2 separate regions of the Homo sapiens genome follow, and region 1 is linked to region 2. Evidence: promoter capture Hi-C in 16 types of primary human blood cells and fetal thymus (Javierre and others, 2016). All regions are on one chromosome and are shown on one strand. Each heading gives the region's core, a stretch centred on a gene start or on the middle of the fragment in contact. The rest is flanking DNA. Distances are from core to core; before and after follow the strand shown. Region 1 overlaps MGA (MAX dimerization protein MGA). Region 2 holds the start of SPTBN5 (spectrin beta, non-erythrocytic 5).

What was found. The method cuts DNA at HindIII sites, captures the fragments that hold promoters and counts their contacts. A CHiCAGO score of 5 or more calls a contact.
Region 1: a fragment that was not itself captured here is called in contact with the fragment with the promoter of SPTBN5 in region 2 in 6 of 17 cell types (total B cells, naive CD8 T cells, naive B cells and 3 more); the score reaches 7.4 in total B cells.

The regions. Positions count from the first base shown.
Region 1 is chr15:41,695,898-41,702,845 of GRCh38, reverse strand. It overlaps MGA (MAX dimerization protein MGA), which reads right to left. Exons shown (of 24, transcript NM_001400225.1): 3 at 5,823-6,771; 4 at 3,905-3,983; 5 at 3,687-3,782. Among named protein-coding and RNA genes, the nearest start is that of MIR626, 7.8 kb to the right of the region's middle. The HindIII fragment of the contact is 5,283 bases long and covers 1,428-6,710 here.
Region 2 is chr15:41,889,822-41,897,468 of GRCh38, reverse strand. It overlaps SPTBN5 (spectrin beta, non-erythrocytic 5), which reads left to right and starts at 3,416. Exons shown (of 68, transcript NM_016642.4): 1 at 3,416-3,570; 2 at 3,923-4,187; 3 at 4,408-4,575; 4 at 7,264-7,380. The coding sequence starts at 3,972. It overlaps LOC105370792 (a long non-coding RNA gene), which reads right to left and starts at 4,692. Exons shown (of 4, transcript NR_135681.1): 1 at 4,391-4,692; 2 at 2,133-2,242; 3 at 1-1,889. EHD4 (EH domain containing 4) reads left to right here. Exons shown (of 6, transcript NM_139265.4): 6 at 1-1,536. RefSeq lists enhancers at 4,572-4,631, 5,825-6,700. The HindIII fragment of the contact is 13,270 bases long and covers 1-5,560 here.

The DNA.
Region 1 (6,948 bases), core at 2,820-5,319, 200 kb after region 2:
TTGGTAGCAATGAAGGAGAAATGCTTTAAACACACTTTTAAAATGCAAAGACAGACGATAATTTCAGATAAGCTAACAGACTTAAAAAGCAGACCAATGTAGATACAGTAAATATAGCAAACAAAAATATAGTACCACGGAAAGAAAAATTAAGAATCTTATTTTATTTTTAAGTAAAACTACCAACAACAATATAACATTTTCCCAGGCTTAATCAACACTGCTTTCCCAATTTTAAAGCAAATTCAAAAAGCTTTTCTAGTTTTTCAAGGGTTTTCAGCTCAGAAGAAGTTTAACTGCTATTTTCTAATTAATGAAATTATAGTTAATAGCAGGACAAGGAAATATGACATTAAGTTGAAATTCAACAAATTATTTCAAGAATCAAATTTTAGAGATGAACCTGGAATACTTTCATTCTCTTCAGAGCCCTGGGATTGGCATCACCCAGTTAATACAAATATTTAGCCAAATTAACTTACTCTTCAGAAACTGTTTAAGTCCAGCTTTTTTTTTTTTTTTTGAGACAATGTCTCACTGTGTCGCCCAGGCTGGAGTGTGGTGGCGCGATCTCGGCTCACTGCAAGCTCCGCCTCCCGGGTTTTCAAGCAATTCTCCTGCCTCAGCCTCCCAAGTAGCTGGGATTGCAGGTGCTCACCACCACACCTGGCTAATTTTTTGTATTTTTAGTAGAGACGGAGTTTCGCCACGTTGGCCAGGCTAGTCTCGAACTCCCAACCTCAAGTGATCCACCCGCCTTGGCCTCTCAAAGTGCTGGGATTACAGACTTGAGCCACCGAGCCTGGCCCAAGTATGGCTTTTTAAAGGAAGCCAAGGTTGGGGAGAAAAATATGCTAAAATAAAATAGAGGAAAAAAAACCCAAAACAGGACTCCACTTCACACATTGAAAAGTAAGTACCAGACAGATTACAGATTTAATTGTTTTTCAAAAAAACAAAACTGTGTCAGCATGTAGTTGAATAAATTTTAAAAACCTTAGGATTAAATACAAACTTGCACCAAATGTAGAATCTATAAAGAAGGTGAAAAGTAATAGCTCAGACACCTTTTGTTTGGCTGTGTTTTTAAAGCTTTGAGTTAGGTGCCCAAAAAACTATTAGCTGCCACCACTTCAGAGACATCACATAGCCACTCCAGCTTCTACTGAACTATGAGCAGACCTGAGAATTTTGGGCCCATTTTTCCATATGACAACAATCCACTGATGCAGCTGTCCCTTTAGAAGAAGTGCCTGTACTCTACCCGACCAGAGTCCAACTCTACCCCCCAAATTCAGGCTAATTTCACTATATATGTTACCTAGTCAGTTTCCATAAACACTGGCCTTTGAACACCCCATTCCATTAAGGAAACGATTACAAATTTGACTAAGATGTCTATAAAAGAAAGAAAAACAGTCAAAGCTTAGCCAACCAGCAAATACTAGGCAAATAAACCAGAGCAAAAGGACCAGCTGCAAGCACTGAATATATTTAACTCTAGAACTAAGATTTTTAAAATGTGGGAGATTAAGTTAAAAGAACACAATATAAATGTCATAATATTTCTACATTATCAAGAAAATAACAAAAAAAATGGAAGTGGAAAAGGGAGAAGACAGGTTAAGTTAAAGATAGGGAGAAATGAAGAAAGGAAAAGGGGAGAAAAAAAGATAGGGAGAAATAAGATAATATTATTTAAATAAAATAGCAGAAGCTAAAGCTGACAATAAACAGCAGCAAACGTTATCTGCAAGATTGCTATGATGTGACTGTCTATTACAATCCACAGCAATCAGCCCACATTGATTGACTGAGACTGGGATCTGCACACTTTTAAGATCGCACTGTCACACAAGCTGCCTTCCATTAAAGCAAAAATTCTTCAAGTATTACCATTTGATTTAGAAACGGAATGACCAGCATATAAATCTTTTGTTTGATAACTTATAATGTTTAGACTCTCAGGTAAATGAACTACTTATAGTGTAAATAGTCTAGACACCCTTCTGAAAATTAATGAGTCAAAAATTCAAAAAACTACTCCAAGATGCCTATCTAAAATCAAAGATAGTCGTAAGAAACTAAAAATTGGGGCACAGCCTAAAATTTTTCATTACACCCCAAAACAGGAAAATTGGTAGTGATCATGATGTTAATAACCATAGTAGATATGTTTTTTTAAAGATTAAGCAACATAATCAAGGTCAAGATAATGCATTACAATAAAATAAAGATAAAAATGAAAACTGCAGCCATAAAAAAGAATGAGTTCATGCCCTTTGCAGGGACATGGATGAAGCTGGAAGCCATTATTCTAAGCAAACTAACATAGGAACAGAAAACCAAACACTGCATGTTTTCACTCGTAAGTGGGAGATGAACAATGAGAACACATGGATGCAAGGAGGGGAACATCACACACCAGAGCCTGTTGGTGGGGAGGGAGAGCATTAGGACAAACACCTAATGCATGCAGGGCTTAAAACCTAGATGACAGGGCCGGGCGCGGTGGCTCACGCCTGTAATCTCAGCACTTTGGGAGGCCGAGGCGGGCAGATCATGAGGTCAGGAGATCGAGACCATCCTGGTTAACACAGTGAAACCCCGTCTCTACTAAAAATACAAAAAAAATTAGCCGGGCATGGTAGCAGGCGCCTGTAGTCCCAGCTACTTGGGAGGCTGAGGCAGGAGAGTGGTGTGAACCCAGGAGGCAGAGCTTGCAGTGAGCTGAGATCGTGCCACTGCACTCCAGCCTGGGCGAGAGCGAGACTGCGCATCAAAAAAAAAAAAAAAAAAAAAAACCTCGATGACAGGTTGATAGGTACAGGAAACCACCATAGCACATGTATAACTATGTAACCTGCACATTCTGTACACGTATCCCAGAACTCAAAGTAAAATTTTAAAAAAAAAAGATAATGAAAATTTTAAATTAACTTCCCAGTGGTACATCAAATATATAAAATAGATGTTTGCAGCCAAAACATGAGACAGAAAAGTATTCTACTGTTTACACACCTAAATATACTACTAAAGGACAAGGAAGACCCTTCCTCCAAAATTATAAAAACAAACACATAATTGGGAGGCCGAGGCGGGCGGATCACAAGGTCAGGAGATCAAGACCATCCTGGCTAACACGGTGAAACCGTCTCTACTAAAAATACAAAAAAATTAGCCAGGCGCGGTGGCAGGCGCCTGTGGTCCCAGCTACTTGGGAGGCTGAGGCAGGAGAATGGCATGAACCCAGGAGGCGGAGCTTGCAGTGAGCAGAGATTGCACCACTGCACTCCAGCCGCCTGGGCGACAGAGCGAAACTCCGTCTCAAACAAACACACACACACACACATAAACAAAAGCAACCAAATTAAGATGAGAAACGGGAAGGGGAGAATACCAGGTTATAAGAATGAACAAAGAAAATATCACTTGCTTTACCATGATACATTTTTTTCTTACATAAGATATTAGACATGGTTTTTAAACTAAAGGGAAGAATTATGGAGACAGAGAAGAGAAAAATATGCAAACTGAAAGACGTGCTGAAAGAAATGAAATCAAGGCTAGAAAGAAAGAGGAAAAAACAGAAAAAAAGAGATGAGAAAGAGAGAGGAAAAAGAGGAGAAACAGTAGGGAAGAAAGAAAAAAAGAAAACAAAAAAAAAGAAGTCGCTAGTCTATTACCTTCTTGAAGACCAGGATGTATCACCTGCTTGTGCCGCAAAGTCTTCAAATCTTCTATCAATTCCTTTTCCAACTGGGAAATTCTTGCTCTGTAACCTACACCCAAAATAAATAGTAATAAAATAAGCTACTGTACACTACAGACAAATGAATGTTGCATGTTTCATTGCTGGAGCCCAAACCACAAATACAACTCTTTTTATACTATTTTATAATACCTGAGTCATTTGTGGTTGATGCCTGGAGACTAGAAGATTCTTCTGTTGTCCCATCAACTGCATGAATGTCTAGAGCTTCCTATACATCAAAAAAAAAAAAAAATAGTAGTTCATATTGCTTCTGAAAACTTAAATGTAAAACAGGATTAAAAAAAACTTAAAGACCAGAAGGAAAATATCTCCATGCCTACAGTTACGCTAACATTGGCAGAACAGGAGCAATTTTTTCATACTTTTTGATATTTTCTAAGTGTTCTACATTAATATTACTTTAATAATCAGAAGGGGAAAAGGGGGAAGTAAAAAAATGTGAATACGATGTCATACTGAGCTAACTGACCTCAAAGTATACGCCAATTTGCATGTTCACTTCTCAGAGCCTATATTCAGATAGCTTACTCAGCTAACAAGAAGGGAGGAAAAGAACAGGTAGAAGGGATTAAATATCCAACATCTGTGTAGTCAATTAAGAAAGACAGCCTGGCACAGTGGCTCACGCCTATAATCCCAGCACTTTGGGAGGCCGAGGCAGGTGGATCACAAGGTCAGGAGATTGAGACCATCCTGGCCACATGGTGAAACCCTGTCTCTACTAAAATAAAAAAAATAGCTGGGCATGGTGATGCACACCTGTAGTCCCAGCTACTCGGGAGGCTGAGGCAGGGGAACTGCTTGAACCCGGGAAACAGAGGTTGCAGTGAGCCAAGATTGTGCCACTGCACTCCAGCTGGTGACAGAGCAAGATTCCGTCTCAAAAAAAAAAAAAAAAAGAGGCCAGGGGCAGTGGCTCACGCTTGTAATTCCAGCACTTTGGGAGGCTGAGGCAGGAGGATCACGAGGCCAGGAGATCGAGACCATCCTGGCTAATATGGTGAAACCCCGTCTCTACTAAAAATACAAAAAAAATTAGCCGGGCATGGTGGCGAGCACCTGTAGTCCCAGCTACTCGGGAGTCTGAGGCAGGGGAATGGCAAGAACACAGGAGGCGGAGTTTGCAGTGAGCCAAGATTGCGCTACTGCACTCCAGCATGAGCCACAGACCGAGACTCCATCTCAAAAAATAAATAAAAAAAGACTGGGCTTCTATAAAAATTTCCAAGAAAAATAATCTGGTTGAAGAGTCAGAGTGGAATAAACAGAGACTTCAATGTGTAAGACAGGAGAGTTAAGATGACTGTTAATATTTGGTTCTCCAATGGTACTCTACTACTACTACTGAAAACCAGGGCCAGGAGCGGTGGCTCATGCATGTAATCCCAGCACTTTGGGAGGCTGAAGCAGGCAGACTGCTGGAGGCCAGAAGTTAGAAATTAGCTGGCCAACATTGCAAAACCCCGTCTCTACCAAAATTACAAAAATTAGCTGGGTGTGGTGGCACACGCCTGTAATCCCAGCTACTCGTGAGGCTGGGGCACGAGAATGGCTTGAACTCGGGAGACGGAGATTGCAGTGAGCTGAGATCGTGCCACTGAACTCCAGCCTGGGCAACAGAGCAAGACTCTGTCTCAAAAAAAAAAAAAAAAGAAAAGAAAAATAAAAGAAAACCAGGAGGTAAAAGAAATGGAGCGTCACCAAAGAGTTAGTAAATATTTCATGTATTTTTAGTCCTTTCCAAAATCCATAATGATGAAAATTCCAGTAAGACCCGAAGACTTTTTTTAAACACAGCTATGCAAAAATCGTAAACTGAAATCTAAGCAAGACATACTTTTTTAAGTCTATTCAAATGAAGTATCTTAAGTTATTCCTATTAACTAAACCAAACATTTTGGAGACACTTCCCTCCCAACTCCACCCCCCATACACCCTCACAAATAGATATCACAAAACTAGATTGTAAATCGAGTTACTTACAAGCCAGTATACAATTCAAGTATGACTAATTAGCCTTAAAGAATCCTGAAAATTACAATCTTACCTTTGATTCAAAGGAAACAAAGAGAACACCATCCACATCTTCCAGATCAGGCTTCACATCTGGAAAGGTACTCCCAGGGCTTACAGGTGTATTCTTTGTAGAAATTAAAGACTTTCCTGTGTTCTTAGGTGGTCGTCCTGCCTTACAGAGTTTCAATTTTCGTGGCCTTCCTCTTTTTCCAGGGACATTTGGAGAGGCATTCTGATTAGCATTCACTACCTTTGCGGCTGTTGCAATCTTAAGCATAGTTGTTCTCTTTCTGCCCAAGTCCTCTTTTCCTGAAAGTGAGTCTCCAACTGAATCCTTTGAATCGTCGAGTATTCTTTCTGTGCTAATGCTGTCAGATATATCAGGATATTTCCACTGAGGCTCTTTCAGTAAGGGATATTTTTGTACCACTCTGAGATCTGGTGAATGTTTTCTAAGACCATTTTCTGATTCCTTGCCTAAGCAGAAGGCAGTCTCATTGGAATTTTCAATGTATGTAGGCAAATATTCCAATTCTGCCAACATAGAAGATTTATCCTTTCGAGATGTGGAAAGCATGTTATCGGGGAGTTCAGAAATCTTAACTGTGCTTCTGGTGACAGCACAGGGCTCCAGATAGACTACTGGCATCTTTCCAGTGTCTAATTTGAACATTTTAGCTTTAGCAACACCTGATGGGCTGCTTGGAAGCCATTTAGAAGATAGATGGTCAGCTTCTGGGTTGTCAACTTTATTGTGCCTCTTTAGCTGTTTCTCTAGTATAGGATCATCATCACTGTTTGAGTATACATCCGTCTCTTCATCTGTCTCTTCCTGTTTCACAGTGACCCCTTCTGGGCACTCACCAAGTTCGTAGTCATAATCATCTAGAGGTTCCTCTTTAATAACAACATTGAAGCTTCCGTTCTGGTCTAACGGTGAGGCTACACGGGAGTCATCTTCAAAACTGCTGGCAATAAGACTGGAGAGAGAGAGGAGAAAGGGATTTTAAAAGTACAAAATGATCCATTAACAAGACTTGAAGAGAAAAAAAAAAAAAGATGTTAGGAATCCAAGTAACACATCAGATTTCCTGAGCCATTCCTCAAAAACACTCAAAAACTCTAAAAATCCACACGGTGATTAACAACCCTGTAAA
Region 2 (7,647 bases), core at 2,167-4,666:
TCAGTTGGCTTTTGGCTTTCCTTTCTCCGGGCTGGGCCTGGTTCTCTTTTGAACACTTGTCGTGCTGCAGCAAGAGCATCTTTGGATTTGGGGCTGTGGAGCTGTGGTTCACCCGCGGGAGTCACAGCCGCGGCCTGGACCTTTCCACCTCGCACCCTCGCTCACCCTCCTTCATGATGCCTGGAGGATGCCTGAGACAATTGCCTTGAAGATGAGGAAAGTGTTTCACTGTTTATTTTCTCCATGGGATGTAGCAGGCAAGCATGCTTAGGACAGAAAACCACTGAGTTTACTCAGGTAAATGCGGGCCTAATACAAGAGTATTGGGTTCCAATGTTGGTTAACCAATGCAGTTAATACGCAATGCTTCTATTTTTTTTCTTTTTGTAATCTTATTTAGAAGTTTCAAACAAAAAGACATAGTCTGCTGATCAATAAACATGGAGCTGCCCTCTCCCACTGGCTCATTTTCCAGTGGCTGCGTGCTGGCCTCTCGGAGCAGAGTGTGGATCCCTGGATCCAGGTTGAACCGGGGGAGAAGAGTTAGGGAGAGGGTGTGCCTGTGAGCCCCAACTCTTCCTGTGGAGAGAAACCCAAAATGCAGCCGCTTCAGAAGGAAAGCGGCCCCATCAGGTGGGGACAGAAGAGGGTAGGCAGCAGAGGCCAGGTCTGTGGACAAAAGCCCCACTTCAGAGTGGTTGGAAGCCAGGACAGGAGGGACTCATGGAGGTGACCGCTTCACAGGAGTCCTTTCTCCAGTCGTGCTAGGGAGGAGCCCCTGCCTGTCCAGCACTGCCCCTGCCTCTTGCTGTACCTTGCCAGTGTGCCCTCCCCCCGCCCACTACCATAGTAGGCATCTGGCTTTTCCCACCAACCCATCTACCTTTTTGGTGGTCCAGACCTACAGTCTCCTTGCAGAGCACTCCTCCTCCCACCCTCACTTCAAGTGAGGTTTGGATGAGATTGACCACATCCCCTTGGTCACAAATATTGGCTCAGGAATGGACATGTGGCCCTGTTCAAGCCTATGAGAGCCAGGACCCCCAGACTTATGTTAGAACTCTTGAGAGAGATACTCTGTCTTCTCTGAACCTTGCAGTATATAGAAATGAGCCTATTGATGCAACAATATAAATGGCACTGAGAGGGGTGTCCAGAGCTGCTGGGGTCAGGGGAGGGAGGTCAGCCTGGCAGAAGCCATCTTGTGGAGCATGAAAATGAAAGAGACCTTGAGAAAGGCCAGAGGAATCCAGGCCTGTGGTGACAACATTTGAGCTGCTGGATCAAACCTCACCTGAAGTCCTTCCTATTCCTACTAGATATTTTTTTCCACTGTGTGGGCCAATGCATTCCCTTTATACTGTGTAAGCCAGGCATGGTGGCTCACACCTATAATCCCAGCAATGCAGGAGGCTGAAGTGGGAAGATCGTTGAGGCCAGGAGTTCAAGACCAGCCTGGGCAACCTAAGAAGACCCTGTCTCTAAAAAAGAATTAAATATAAATAAATAAATAATAAAAATATAATGTTTAAACCAGTTTCACTTGAGATTTTAGTTACTTGCAACATAAATAATCCAAACTTTGTTCCGACCCACAGGGTTCTCATTTCACCAGGGGCTGCAATCAGTCGTGGCCAAACAGGAGCCAGTCCTTGCATTGTATGCAGTGGCTTTAGCTGCCGTTGAGCTAGAAAGGAAGAAAAGCAGTCCACAGCCCCCGCCAACAGCTTCAAAATGCCAATCCCTGTTGAGGTCTATGTGCGAAGCACCACGCAGTTCAGTCTGTCCTCCCCGCTCACAACATCACACAGGACTCCACGGGCCGAGCAGTTCAGTCTGTCCTCCCACGCTCACAACATCACACAGGACTCCATGGGCTGAGGGTCTTACTAGGAGAAGGAACAAGCTCAGTCTCCCTGGGGTAAGCGGGTGGGATGAGGGACTTCCTAGAAGAAACAGGATTTTAACTGGGGCAGGCAGGATAGGTGAATGTGGATGATGGAGAATGGGAAAGGACGTTCAAAGCTGAAAGAGCAGCTGAAGCCCAGCCTTGGGGCAGGAGAGCTCTGGTCCTGCTCAGGAAATGGTGAGTGGCCCATGGAGAGCACCCAGAGTGAGGGGGGCAGACTAGCCTGGTTAGGTAAGCTGGCAGGCTTCCAAGGCCTGGCTGAGGCAAGGTCTGGCAAGTCTGGATTTTCCTTCCCAGGCTGTGGGAGGCTTCACAGGCACGAGCAGAGCTGCACTGTGGAAAGGTGCGGGGTGGTGGTGTCCAGGATGCCGAGTTAGGGGGTCCGTGATGAGGACCCCCAGGGGCAGTGAGGGCAGAAGGGGGGGTGCACGGGAGGACCGCCACAGCAACTGCTGCGAGCAAGGGAGGGACGCAGGGTGTCTGGAAGCCAGCCGCTGCAGAAGGGGCCTGGCAGGGAGAGGACAGCAGGAGAGGAAGCGTCTCTCAGACGCAGGAAGCCGCACCCCACCCGAGACCACGGCACCTCTCAGCGTCACCCCTGACTGCCTGCAGTGGGCCCAGGCGGTTCAAGTGTGACTCATCCCTAGCCCAGCTCTCAAGGGCGCGCTGAGCGGCTGTCCTGCTGTGGGCTGTGGCTGCCAGGAGCGCCTCCCTGAGGAGCGGGCTGTCGCTTCAGAGGCTCCAGGGCCGCTGGAAGACACCCACACACACACACCCCAGCCCACACTGCTACCCTGAGTTTAGCCAGAGGCGGGTGAGACCCCCAGAATTAGAACTCGCCTTCACTCTGGCATGTAGTCCACGGCTGCTCGGGGAGGAAGGGATGGGCGCCCACCAGCTCCCTCTGCACCCCTGCCTCCGAGCCCCGGGCCACGGCCAGCTCTGTGGAGCCCAGAGTTAACACCGTGTCTCTAATTTTGGAGGAGACTCCACAGCCCTCGCAGTTCCAGGTCACCCCTTCCTCCAGGGAGCCTACCCTTCAGCCCCGGGCTAGGCAGGCTGCACTCTGGCAGGGCCTGGAAAGCCAAGCCCAGGGTCTGTGAGGCCCTCAGTCTATGGGCTGTTCCCTGGGGGTGAATGAGAAGACCACGGCCCAGGACGCTCCCTCATCCCCTCGCCCTGGGTGCTCACAGAGAGGCCCCAAGAGGGTACAGAGGGCAGTCTCAGATTGGGAAGTGCGTCCACAGGCTTCCCACAGAGGCTCTGCCCTTTGGTACCTCCTACGCAGACTGCAGCACCCCATGCGGTGGCAGGGCCGCTCCATGGGCCTCTGCGTCCTGGGAGCCAGGACCCCCACCTGGAGTTGGAGAAGTTGCTGGCGGGGAAGGGAGGATGATGAAGGAGGACATCATCTGGCAATGGCCCTGGAGCATTCCTGAACCACCCCCTCCCTGTCTGGGCCACGCCCTGTGGCAGGTGGGAGGACAATGCCGCCTGTGTGCCGTCACCCCAGCACGCTGGCTCAAGGGGAGGGCTGTGGTGCAGCCCTGCTCCAGCCTTGGCCTCTCCTGATGTCCCTCTCCCTCCCTCCACAGCCCCTGCTATCTGCCATCTCCATCCGTCCAGCTGGGCCGCCTCTGTGGAACCCAGGCATCACCAAGGTAAGCAGCCCCTGCTATCTACCATCTCCATCCGTCCAGCAGAGCCGTCTCTGTGGGACCCAGGCATCACCAAGGTAAGCAGTTTCCTGTCTTCCTTCCACCTGTCCCAGTCACTGTGGTGGAGGGACCTGGCAGCAGGGGCTCTGAGAAGAAGAATCTGGAAGGTGGGGTGGGGCAAAGGGGGCCCTGGGCCATTCAAGCACAGGGGACCAGAAGCACTGGCCCTTACCTGGCTGGGCTCCAAGCTGCAACCCCCATGAAATGTGAGGACAGTCTGGCAAGGCGGGACCCCAGGCCCCTGGTAGAGGGGCCATCTCCATTCACATCATCCCCTAATCTGCATGCCCTCCAGGTTTAGGGAGCCATCCAGCAGCTCCTCATCCCCAAAGTCTGCAGGGCTGATGGCTGGTCAGCCCCACAGTCCCCGGGAGCTCCTCGGGGCTGCAGGGCACCGCAGCAGGAGGCCCAGCACAGAACTCCGGGTCCCGCCCAGTCCAAGTCTCACCATGGACTCTCAGTACGAGACGGGCCACATTCGCAAGCTACAGGCCCGGCACATGCAGATGCAGGAGAAGACTTTCACCAAGTGGATCAATAACGTCTTCCAGTGCGGCCAGGTGAGTATAGCCAGCTGTGACCCACAGCCCACCCATACCAGGCCCCCAGCTCTGGCCAGTGGGCCTCCGGGGTGAGCTGTGGGGTCATCTGCCTGAGGCCAAGCTGAGGCCAGAGCTCCTTCTTCCAAAGCAGCTGCTCTGGGTCGTACCTCTCAGGTCCCAGGATGGGAGGACAGGTGAGGCTGGGCTGACCCCATACTTACCCCTGTCCCCTCCCCAGGCGGGCATCAAGATCCGGAACCTGTACACAGAGCTGGCTGACGGCATCCACCTCCTGCGGCTGCTGGAGCTCATCTCAGGGGAGGCCCTGCCACCCCCGAGCCGGGGCCGCCTGCGTGTGCACTTCCTGGAGAACAGCAGCCGAGCTCTGGCCTTCCTCAGGGCCAAGGTGGGCCCCAGGGAAAGGGGTCTGGGATGGTGCTGGGGCAGGCAGCTGGGACAGGCTGAACTACTGGGTCACCTTTCCTGCGCCAGGCCACTGGGCAGAACAGAGGAGCTGGGGCCTGAGTACAGGAGGAGTGGCTGGGACACAGAGGAGCAGAAGCCACGCCCTCCTCGCACAGCACCCCTGACTTGGAGAGCACCCAGCTGGCCATGGCAGTAGCAATCCAGGTCCCTACTGGGGTGGAAAATGTCACTGTCTGTCATAAGAGAGACTCACAGGATTCTAGGCCAAAAGAATCTTAGCGTTCTCTTAGGCTTTTCATTTCACAGATGAGGAAACAGAGGCCCTGAATTATTTACCAGGCAAGATCGATGGTTAACCAGCCAACAGAGCCCAGATGTGGGACTAAGACGGCAGGTGGGGAAGAGGAGCAGGGCCTGTCTTGGAGAAGGAGGGAGGAGGCCTCAGCAAATGGGGGGAGGCAGAGTCACCTGAAAGAAAGGGACAGGCTAAGGAGATGGGCACTAAAAGGAGGCCGGAGCTCCAGGGACAGAGGGACCCTCATGGCCAGGGTGAGGGGCTGGTGCAGGGGTGGGGTGGGGCAAAGGGATCATTGGAAACCGGGAACTGTGAAGGCCAAGGGCTCCTGGAGGTGGCTGTCCCTGGAGGCTGTGAAGTCACTGAGCTGGGCCTGGCTGGATGGAGCCTGACTGTGCGTGCCTATCACTATATCCTGGAGTGGAGCTTACATCCAGCCTCCTGGGGTGTGTTGGAGGAAAGCCAGGGAGGGGAGAAGCCCAAGCAAAGGGAATGGGAGTGACTGCTGTCCTGAGCAGGTGCAAGAGCAGAACGCTGCCAGCTGCAGAATGCTGGGCCCTAGTTGATCCAGGGACAATGACCCTGTGAGCCAGTCATCTCCCCTCCAGGAACTGGGGAAGGGTGTAAGCCCCACAGCCTTTGTCAGAGGTGTTGCAGCTCTCCCCAAGCTTTAATATACAGCATGTCACTGATACCTGTGAGGGTGACATCCTTGTCTCCATACACATAGGAGGCAACTGTGGTCTAGAAAGGATGACGGAGTTGCCGCAAACACACAGGGAATGTGTGGCAGAATGAGGGATGCATTCGCTTATGGAGATGCTCCCATGCCCTGGGCATTCTATGCAGGCGCTGGGCTCCACTAAGCAAAGCCCAGACCCCCACCTCAAGGCACCTGGCTTCAAAGGGAGACAGATTCATTGAACCCAGATCAGCGGTGTGCTGGTAAACGTTTAACAAATGATTCTCTGGGGGAAATAAAAACTCCAGTGTGCTGTATTCGCTGATCCTATGGCGTTAATACCCCCCATCACGGTGAGTTTAAGCCACCAGCGTGACATCGCTCAATAGGAAGTCAGGAGGATAGGCTCTCAGGAGCTGGGAGGAGCAGACAAACACCCCACTCACCAGAGGCTCCAACTCTAAGCCAAGGTGATTGACATGGCAGGTGGAATCCACCCCAGGAGCATGGGTGGGATCCTTTAGAGGCCAGCCAGATATACCAAAGTTTACCTAGGGGGACACCCAGGATTGCAGCTCCTCCCACAGGGCTAGTAGTGGCCGGCTGAAGCCAGTTGCCCTTCAGGTCTTATGGAAAGTCTCACTCCTTTTCTTTCTCCATTCAGTACTTACTGATCGATTGCCTGCTGTGTGCCACTCCCCTAGGATACACCAGAAAACAAAGCCAAGATCCTCACTTGAGCAGGGCAAGGGGATCGAGAGTGTGTATTTGGGTGGGAGAAATAGTCCTTAAGTTTCTGTGTTAAATAAAGTGGTCAGGCTAGGCAACATCTGAGTGAAGAGTTAAAGGCAGGGAGGTGAATAGCCATGCAGATACCTGGGAGAATACTTTCAGACAGCAGGCACGGCCCTGCAAAGGCCTGAAGTCCTGTGCTTAGAATCCCATGGAACTATAAGAATCCCATGGGCCTTGGAGCTATGTGATTCCACAGGGTGGAAGATGGAGCCACAGGGGGCTGGGGGCCAGATCCTGCAGGGCTTCTCCCCTTGACTCACCCATCCTCCCTGTCCAAATGGCAGGATGTAGGGCAGAGGAGTCTCAACTTTGGTGTACCTAAGAGCCACCCAAGGTGTTGTTCAAGTGCAAATTCCCAGGCTCTGGCCCAAGACAGTCTGACTGGGTGGAGCCTGGGAGTCTGGATTTATAGCTGGCCCTGTTGGAGCCGGAACAGAAGAAGAGGGCTGAGATTTGGGTGTGAGCCCAGGGACCCAGCCACCCCCTGAAGATCCCAGGACACCCTGGGAGATGGAGGCAGACAGTTGCTATTGTCTGTTGGGCTCACACATTGACTGTTATGACCCCTCATTTCCAAACCCTGCAGCTGAACCACTGATCTTGGCCCAGGTCTACCTGTAGCCCACACACAGGGAGTCCTCCTGCTCTGAGGGCCCAGCCCAGTTCACCAGGTTGGGGCTTCACCCAGGTGGGCTTGAGGCCATGGCTCCAACCAGGCAGGAAGCCTTTGCTTTCCTGGACTTATCCCCTGCCTGCTTCTCCCTGAGGGAACTCCCAGCTGGGGCAGGATAGATTCCAGGATGCTCCCATCCCGCAGCTGGCCCCCTAAGCTTTTGGTGACTGAGTCCTCTCTGGACATGGGCTTCATGGCTTAGCCCATCCAACTGTGCCCACAGGTGCCAGTACCACTCATCGGGCCAGAGAACATCGTGGACGGAGACCAGACACTCATCCTGGGACTCATCTGGGTCATCATTCTGCGTTTCCAGATCTCCCACATCTCCTTGGACAAGGTATGGCTCAGTCCCCAGTACCCAGCACCTGGTGACCCAGCCCAGCCCTGGCCTCACCTCAGACCCCTGGGGATTCATAAGTTCCACACAACTTTTATGATCCCCATAGGAGATCCTGGAAACTGCAAAGTCCATATTCACTCTCCAACCATGGGTGAAGAACCCAGGATACCAGAGATATTGTAACATTGTAATATGCTAAAGTGAGGGCCAGGGCCATGGGCTTCAAACCAGGTCTGGGCAAGTCATTCACTAGTGGGGGGTTCA